Regions from separate parts of the Homo sapiens genome. Here region 1 is linked to region 2. The links are contacts of gene promoters, found by promoter capture Hi-C in human tissues and cell types (Jung and others, 2019). All regions are on one chromosome and are shown on one strand. Each heading gives the region's core, a stretch centred on a gene start or on the middle of the fragment in contact. The rest is flanking DNA. Distances are from core to core; before and after follow the strand shown. Region 1 overlaps KDM2B (lysine demethylase 2B). Region 2 holds the start of SETD1B (SET domain containing 1B, histone lysine methyltransferase).

Region 1 (4,489 bases), core at 83-2,582, 290 kb before region 2:
TTTTTTTTGAGATGGAGTCTCGCTCTGTCGCCCAGGCTGGAGTGCAGTGGCTCAATCTAAGCACACTGTAACCTCTGCCTACTGGGTTCAAGCAATCCTCCTGCCTCAACCTCCCGATTAGCTGGGACTACAGGCATGAACCACCATGCCTGGCTAATTTTTGTATTTTTTTAGTAGAGATGGGGTTTCACCATGTTGGCCAGGCTGGTCTCGAACTCCTGACCTCAGATCATCCGCCTGCCTTGGCCTCCCAAAGTGCTGGGATTATAGGCGTCAGCCACCGGCGCCTGGCCAGGCAAATTCTTTTTCTAAGACAAAGCCACACCATGGAGCTTGGAGACTGACCGATGGTTCCCTCTGTCCCACCTCCTGCATTTGGTTTCCAGGCAAAGCCATGTTTTAGGACTCTTAAAACACTTTTTTTGAGGGGGGGGATGGAGTTTCGCTCTTGTTGCCCAGGCTGGAGTGCAGTGGTGCGATCTCAGCTCACTGCAACCTTTGCCTCCCGGGTTCAAGCAATTCTCCTGCCTCAGCCTCCTGAGTAGCTGGGATTACAGGCACACACCACCATGCTCGGCTAATTTTTGTATTTTTAGTAGAGACAGGGTTTCACCATGTTGGTCAGGCTGGTCTCGAACCCCTGACCTCAGATCATCCGCCCGCCTTGGCCTCCCAAAGTGCTGGGATTACAGGCGTGAGTCACCATGCCCAGCCTATAAAACAGTATTTTTAAATGGCCATAACCTTCTTAAGAAAGCTCTCAGGGCTGTAAAGAATGAAGCTGTAGTGAGCTAACAAAGAGCCCTGGCATCTTATCTGGTTCCAGAATTCTCTCCCCAGTGCCTTTTGTCTGCCTTGGCTCCTAAGGCATAAACAATTGGGCCTCGTAGCCAAGTCCCTCTCTCAAGACCAGAAATCAAGGCAGATTAAACAACCTGCCGCTGCTCCCAGCCCAGTCTGCCCCCAAGCCCCCGCTGCCAGCCTGCTTCGGTGAAACCAGATGGGGTGCCCACTCAGGGGAAGGGACAGTAGGCCCCGGTGGGGGAGGGGACCTGCCATTCTCAACGAGGACGTGATATTCCACGTAAGCTCAGTGTGATGCTCAGGGGTCCGGCCAGCACCCTGCCAGTCGTCATGGGTGGGGGAAGGGACCTGGGCTCCTAAGGGAACCATGGGGCCCAAATCCGCTGAGTTTACAATTGAATTCCCAGGGGGACGGGGTGGTTGTCCAGCAAGTAGCCACAGCCTTTAGAAATCCCAGCCTGACTCCGGCTTTCAGGAATTGCCTGGAAAGTCGTGGGCCTGACTTCCACTAGATTTCTCCATCTCTATTCCACACGTCTGCTCGTGCACAAACTGGCCTGTACTCCAGGACAGGCCAAAGAACAGTTGGCCGGAGCCCCAGACAGCATTGACCCAGACTGTGAGGTGACCGCTTGTATCCAAACAGTGCCTTTCTCCTGAATGGCATGGGGCGGCTCCTCCAGACCAGGGTGGGGGCTGGCCTTCCCCAGGTGGGATGGGGATGGTGGGCCACAGAGAGGTGAGGGGAAAAAGTCCACAAAACGATGGTCTCCCATGGAGCCCCAGCCCAGACCCAGGTCTCTCCAGATCTAGGCGTCACGTGTCAATCTGCAGAGGTACACATGCCTCACAACATCTGACCACTGAACTCAACTCCAGGTGGTCTCCAGGAAACCCCCAGACATGGGCCCACAATGCCGGGACTGTTCAATGTTCAGATACAAAGGCAGCAGCTAATACTTTGCTCATGTATGTGATTTTGTGCAAACCAAGGCCTGAAAACAAGACCAGGAGAGACAGGGGCTTGGTACAGAGCAGGTGCCCTTGTGAGACCTCTCCTTAGATCTATGCAGAGCAACACCTCACTGGGGCAAAAAGCCATCTCAGAAGCAAATCCCAAGAAGAAATGGTGTGGTCTGGCTACAGAATGGAATATTATTCAGCCATGAAAAGGAATGAAGCTCTGGCACATGCTACAATGTGGATGAACCTGGAAATCATTATGCTACATGAAAGAAACCAGACACAAAAGGCCACATGTTGAATGACTCCATTTACATCAAATGTCCAGAATAGGCAAATCCACAGAGATAGAAAATAGATTAGGGCTAGCCAGGGGAAAGGTGGGGAGACACAGGAAGTGACTGCTTGTGGGTACAAGGTTTCTTTTTGGGGTGATGAAAATGTTCTGGAATTAGTGGTGATCATGACACAATCTTATAAAGATACTAAAACCACTGAATTGTATACTTTGAATGGTAAATTTTAGGGTATATGAATTATATCTCAATTTAAAAGAAAATGAATATTTGAATAGCTGTGTTGAAAAAACAGGAACAAGTAGAACAAGAAATGGGACTTTTTTACCCCAAGTCTCTGGGTTTTGTTTGTTTCTTTGTTTTTTAGTATGAGACAGGTCCGGCTCTGTCGCCCAGGATGGAGTGCAGTGGCGTGATCTCGGTTCACTGCAACCTCCGCCTCCCGGGCTCAAACGACCCTCCCACCACAGCCTCTCAAGTAGCTGGGACTACAGGCGTACACCACCACGCCCAGCTTTTTTGTATTTTTGGTAAAGACAGGGTTTCATCATGTTGGCCTGGCTGGTCTCGAACTCCTGACCTCAAGTGATCCACCCACCTCGGCCTCCCAAAGTGCTGGGATTACAGGCAAGAGCCACCGCGCCCGGCCCCAAGTCTTCAGTTTTGACCCAGTTTGGGACCTGTCTTATGTGCCTAGGGACACGTGATCAAGTCCTAGCACGAGAAAGGCCATGGCAAGTTCAGGCCACTTGTCCTTTTCAGGGGACACTTGTGGAGCGAAGGACACACATCAGTTACCTAAGCCTCCGCCCATGTTCGTAGGACATGGGGTGAGTGAGGGAAACTTGACGTCTGGGAAACTAGCACCGTCCCTGTCAAGGGCAGAGAAAAGCCTCGGCCCCAGGAAACTAGAGACGTCCTCAGCAGACATGGAGACTACCTCAGAGACAGTACCCAGGGGGACTCAGGCACTGGCTTCCTCAGGCTTCCTCCCCAGTCAGATCTGGGGTCCCTGGGAGAACATATAGCCAAGACCTGACCTCAGACCAGGACAGGCCCTTCCAAGGTCCACACCCATCCTCCAAACAACAGCGACCAAATCCCCCTAATCCCTCACACCACTTTCTCCACGTGAGGAGGAAGAGGCAGGTCCCTGAAATCTCACGGTGCTTTCTCAGAGACACTTCCTCTTCCACAAGGGGGTTTTGGCTGCCCCCAACCTGGAGGTGAACAGAAACTCCAGGGCCTCCGGGTGTGGCTCCTACAGGCATTCCCCTGCCCCCCCTCCCCCGCCACAGAACCAGGACTGAAGCCAGCTTGAGAGAGGAATCGGGAGGGAGAGGGGAACTGTGGAGGACTTCAGTATGACCTGTCCCACACACCGAGCACCGGCAGAGCTCAGGGGCCAGGCGCGCACGCGAGGACAGAAGGGAACCTCCTTACCCGCGTCCTGTCCTCGATCTCGTAGATCCGCAGCTGCATGGGCACGTTAAAGCTGTGCAGGATGTTTCCGCCGAACACCAAAGAGTCTACAGGGGTGTAGACGGCATGGATCCAACCTGGGGTGGGAAGGGCAAGGAGAGGATGAGCCGCTGGCCCCTGTGGGCTCCCACACCTCACAAGGCTGCAGGGAGGGAGAGCGAGCGTGCAGGAGGGTGCAGGGAGTGGAGAAGAGCAGCCAGGGCCTGGGGCAGCGGCGCCCAGCAATGCCTGCTGCACAACGCCCAGGCCTGAGCCGCCGAGAGGACTCAGACTTGCAGCCTCGAGCAGCCACTGTCTGGCTCAAGTCAGGAGCTGGGAAGCTGCAGATCAGCCCCCACTTCTTGAGGACCGTGATGACAAAAGCTTCCTCTGGGGACCTGGCTGCAATGGCCAGCAGAGAGGCAGGCCCTTTCTCCACCTCCATGCAGGCCACGGAGCCTCACCTCCCCTCCCAGGTGGCACATGTGTCCAGAGTCTTTCCTCACCATCCCAGAGGGGTCACAAAGGATGGCTGGGAACCATGACGCAGGAGTGACGTCTTGCCAGAGCTGCAGGACCCAAGCACTTTCCTCCGCCCAAGTCCATCTTCTTGTCATCAAACTCCACCCAGGCCCCTTTCCATGTGGTCTCCTTGGTCACACAACGCCTGCATGCCCCCCTCAGCTCTGCCCTCCACTCTGCCCCACAGGCTGCTGGTAAGTCTCTCCTGCAGCTTCTCACAGCTGGGAGCCGCAGTTTTTCATCTCTCCAAACTCCTAGCCTGGAGCCAGACACAGTCACCATCACAAGGGAAACGGAGGCAGGGCCAGGTGTAGTGGTGCACCTCTGTGATCCCAGCACTTTGGGAGGCTGAGGCGGGAAGATCGCTTGAGCTCAGCAGTTTGAGATCAGCCTGGACAATATAGTAATACCTCATCTCTAAAAAAAATTAAATAAATAGCAGG
Region 2 (2,984 bases), core at 485-2,984:
AGGTTCGGAAAATTAAGGACATCTCAGCAACATTAACATCAAAACTGTACTGCGTCAGGACAGAATGGATTGGGTACTTACAATGTAAAAGGTTTTTTAAAAACTAAAAGAGTAACAACTGCTCACAATTTTTTGTTGCTGCCATTTCGCTAGTCCTAAAGCTATATACATTTAAAACATTACCTTGTTAAAAAGAGAGAAGGAGTTAATAAGATGGCCAGGTTTAAGTGTTTAATAGAGGAAACTAGATATATTTAAAAATTTATTGTTCAGTCAAGAGAATACAGATTAAGACAGCTCCAAGCTCCCCCCACCCACCCATAGAACAAAAAGAGGAAAAAAAATATGTCATTTACTTAGGTTTTTTTGGAATTCAAAACTGTTAACTGCTGACATGAATGGTGTGCTATGACCTAGTTATACAAGACAAAGATGGATTCCAAGTCATAAGGAAAAATCCAGATCTTTTTAAAAAGTCTTCTCCAGTCTTCCAACTGTGAGTCCTTGGGCCTGTTGACAAATGTTAAACACACTGAGACGTCCTGAACTGGATGGTAGAGTCAAAGGAAAAACATTCCCCATTTGCAACAAAGGAAAAACCCACTTGGCCATTTAATTCCATTGCAGAAAAATGGCTTCCCTCATCTGTTGGCCTCTCCTTCGTGTCTGATGAAGGATGTTTTGAGATCAGCGTCTAATAACTCAAGCCCTATAGAAGCCGCGCGCTGATTGGCTGCCGCGCCCTGCCGCCCTGCTCCAGCCAATTACCTACCCACGGCCAAATTACAAACCCCGAAAAGAGCCCCAATATGAGCTACACCAGCTCCGAGCCCCGGCGAGGCGGCTCCTGCGCCTCGGCCGCCAGAGAGGAGCGGCAGAGGGGGCTGCAAACGCGTCCTCGCGAAGCCCGGGAGCCTCGGAGTTGAACTCACAAAATGGAAGCCGCGCGCTGATTGGCCGCCGCCACTCCCGGACCTTTAATAAAGAAAGGGGAAGGAAAAGATAAATGCAAAAAAGGGGGACTCTCTCCTCCGCGGGTGGCTGGAGGAAGGGGGGGAAGCATGTGTTCAGGACAATTACAGGGCGCTCCCCTCCAAAAATAAAAACAGAAGAAGGCGTCTATCGCCCAGGTCCAGGCGAGGGCTGCATCCTCCCAGGAATGCGAATGCTAACGTGGTGAACCCTGGTCTCCCTTCCCCAGCTCAGCTCCGGGGAGGGGGTCGCGGGCCGCAGGAGGAAGCCGGAGCGCAGATACCTCGATTGCAACTCCTCTGAGTCGACGCCGGCCTCCCCCCGCGGCTCCCAGCGTCCACACACACCCTCGGCCCCCCAGACCCCAGCCATCTCCCCGGGCCCCGCGCGCCCGCCTCCGGCCCGGGCAGTTTGGAAACAGTTTTGCAGGCCCGGGACGCACGCCGCGGCGGTCGCGGCTCTGAGGGTAGTCCCGGCCGCGGGAGGTAGAGCCCGGGGAGACCCCCTCCCCCGCCAGCCAAGACCCCCACCCCAGTCCCAGAAAAATAAATAAATTAAAAGGCCTTCCCCCGGGGAGGGGGAGGCAGTGTGGGAGCGCGCGAGTGAGGGGTGGGGGGCCGCTGGGGCCCGGGGCTTTGGCGGCGCAGCTGCCGCCGCCGGGAGAGTGCCTGGGGAAGCGGCGAGGAAGGAGAGGGGAGGAGGAAGAGGAGGAGGAGGAGGAAGAGGAGGAGGGTGAGCGCTCGGGTCGGGCTCCTTAGCGGTGTATTGTGGGATGTGCGGCTACTGGGAGCCGAGCCTCCGCCGCCAGCCGCCTCCCGGGCAGCAGCAGCAGCAGCGGCGGCGGCAGCGGCAGCAGCTCCGGGCCCGGCAGCCGCGGCGGCGGCGCCCCCCCTTCCTGGCCCCCGGTCCGGCCGCCCCGGCCTCGGCTCCCTCGGGGGACACCATGTACTGGCTGGCGGCGCAGGGAGGCCGGCGCCCGGCGGGGATGTAAGCGCGGCTCGGGGAGGGAGAGGCCGCGGCCGGCAGCCGGGCGGCCCAAGCCCCCGGCCCCGGCCCTGGCCCGAGCGGGCGAGCGGGCGGGCGGGCGGCGGCGCCGCCAGGCCCTGCCGCCAGCCTCGCGCCAGAGCCGGGCCGAGCTAGCGGGTGAGCGCCACGCCGGGCGGCCGGGCGGGCACCATGGGCCGGAGTCCGCGTCCTCCGGGCGCCCCGGGCCCCGCCAGCCCGCCCAGGGGACCCCCGGGAGCCCCTCGCTGCCGCCCCGAGACGGTGGCCGAGCGGGCGGGCGCGTAATTCTCCCGGAAGGGTTATTCTCTCGCTCCATTCTTGTTTTGGGGGGAGCCAGCGAGACAGCTCCTTTCGGGGCGCGCTGGCAAGGTGGGAGGGGGTGGGGGCCTGCCGATTGGATTCTTTCGCGTGTGTGTAGAAGCGGCCGCCGCCGCCGCCGCGGCGGAGACGACAACAACTTGCTGGTTTTCAGGTTGGGTTAACGGCATGGAGAACAGTCACCCCCCCCACCACCACCACCAGCAGCCCCCGCCGCAGCCCGGCCCTTCGGGCGAGAGGAGGAACCACCATTGGAGAAGTTACAAGTTGATGATTGACCCGGCTCTGAAAAAGGGGCATCATAAACTGTACCGCTACGATGGGCAGCATTTCAGCCTGGCGGTGAGTAGCCGGCGCGCCCCCCCAGCCGTGCCCCGCGTCGTGTCCGGGGAGACGCGCCTAGCGGCCAGGGACCCCCCGCCCGATCCCCCGGCCAACTGTCAGACGGGGCCCCAGCCCTGGAGTTTGACAAGTGCCTCGAGAAAGGGGTCTGCCCATGGGGAGGGGGACCAGTTCTCTCATCCCGGCCCCCCAATTTCTCCCCACAGATGTCCAGCAACCGCCCGGTGGAAATTGTCGAAGATCCCCGGGTCGTCGGGATCTGGACCAAAAACAAGGAGCTGGAGCTGTCGGTGCCCAAATTCAAGGTAGGACCCCTCCCCACTGCCCCGCCGTCCCTCCCCCACCTC

What was found. Contacts are between HindIII fragments. The study calls those that stand out against the background at their distance.
Region 1: a contact is called between a fragment that was not itself captured here and the fragment with the promoter of SETD1B in region 2, in 1 of the 25 tissues and cell types used here (dorsolateral prefrontal cortex).

Annotation. Positions count from the first base shown.
Region 1 is chr12:121,517,479-121,521,967 of GRCh38, forward strand. It overlaps KDM2B (lysine demethylase 2B), which reads right to left. Exons shown (of 23, transcript NM_032590.5): 9 at 3,507-3,622. Among named protein-coding and RNA genes, the nearest start is that of KDM2B-DT, 61 kb to the right of the region's middle. RefSeq lists an enhancer at 1,092-1,665. The HindIII fragment of the contact is 5,809 bases long and covers 1-4,237 here.
Region 2 is chr12:121,802,275-121,805,258 of GRCh38, forward strand. SETD1B (SET domain containing 1B, histone lysine methyltransferase) reads left to right here and starts at 1,735. Exons shown (of 17, transcript NM_001353345.2): 1 at 1,735-1,959; 2 at 2,450-2,637; 3 at 2,844-2,942. The coding sequence starts at 2,464. It overlaps LINC01089 (long intergenic non-protein coding RNA 1089), which reads right to left and starts at 672. Exons shown (of 4, transcript NR_152740.1): 1 at 357-672. RefSeq lists silencers at 1,280-1,529, 1,800-1,929, 1,970-2,029. The HindIII fragment of the contact is 28,947 bases long and covers 1-2,984 here.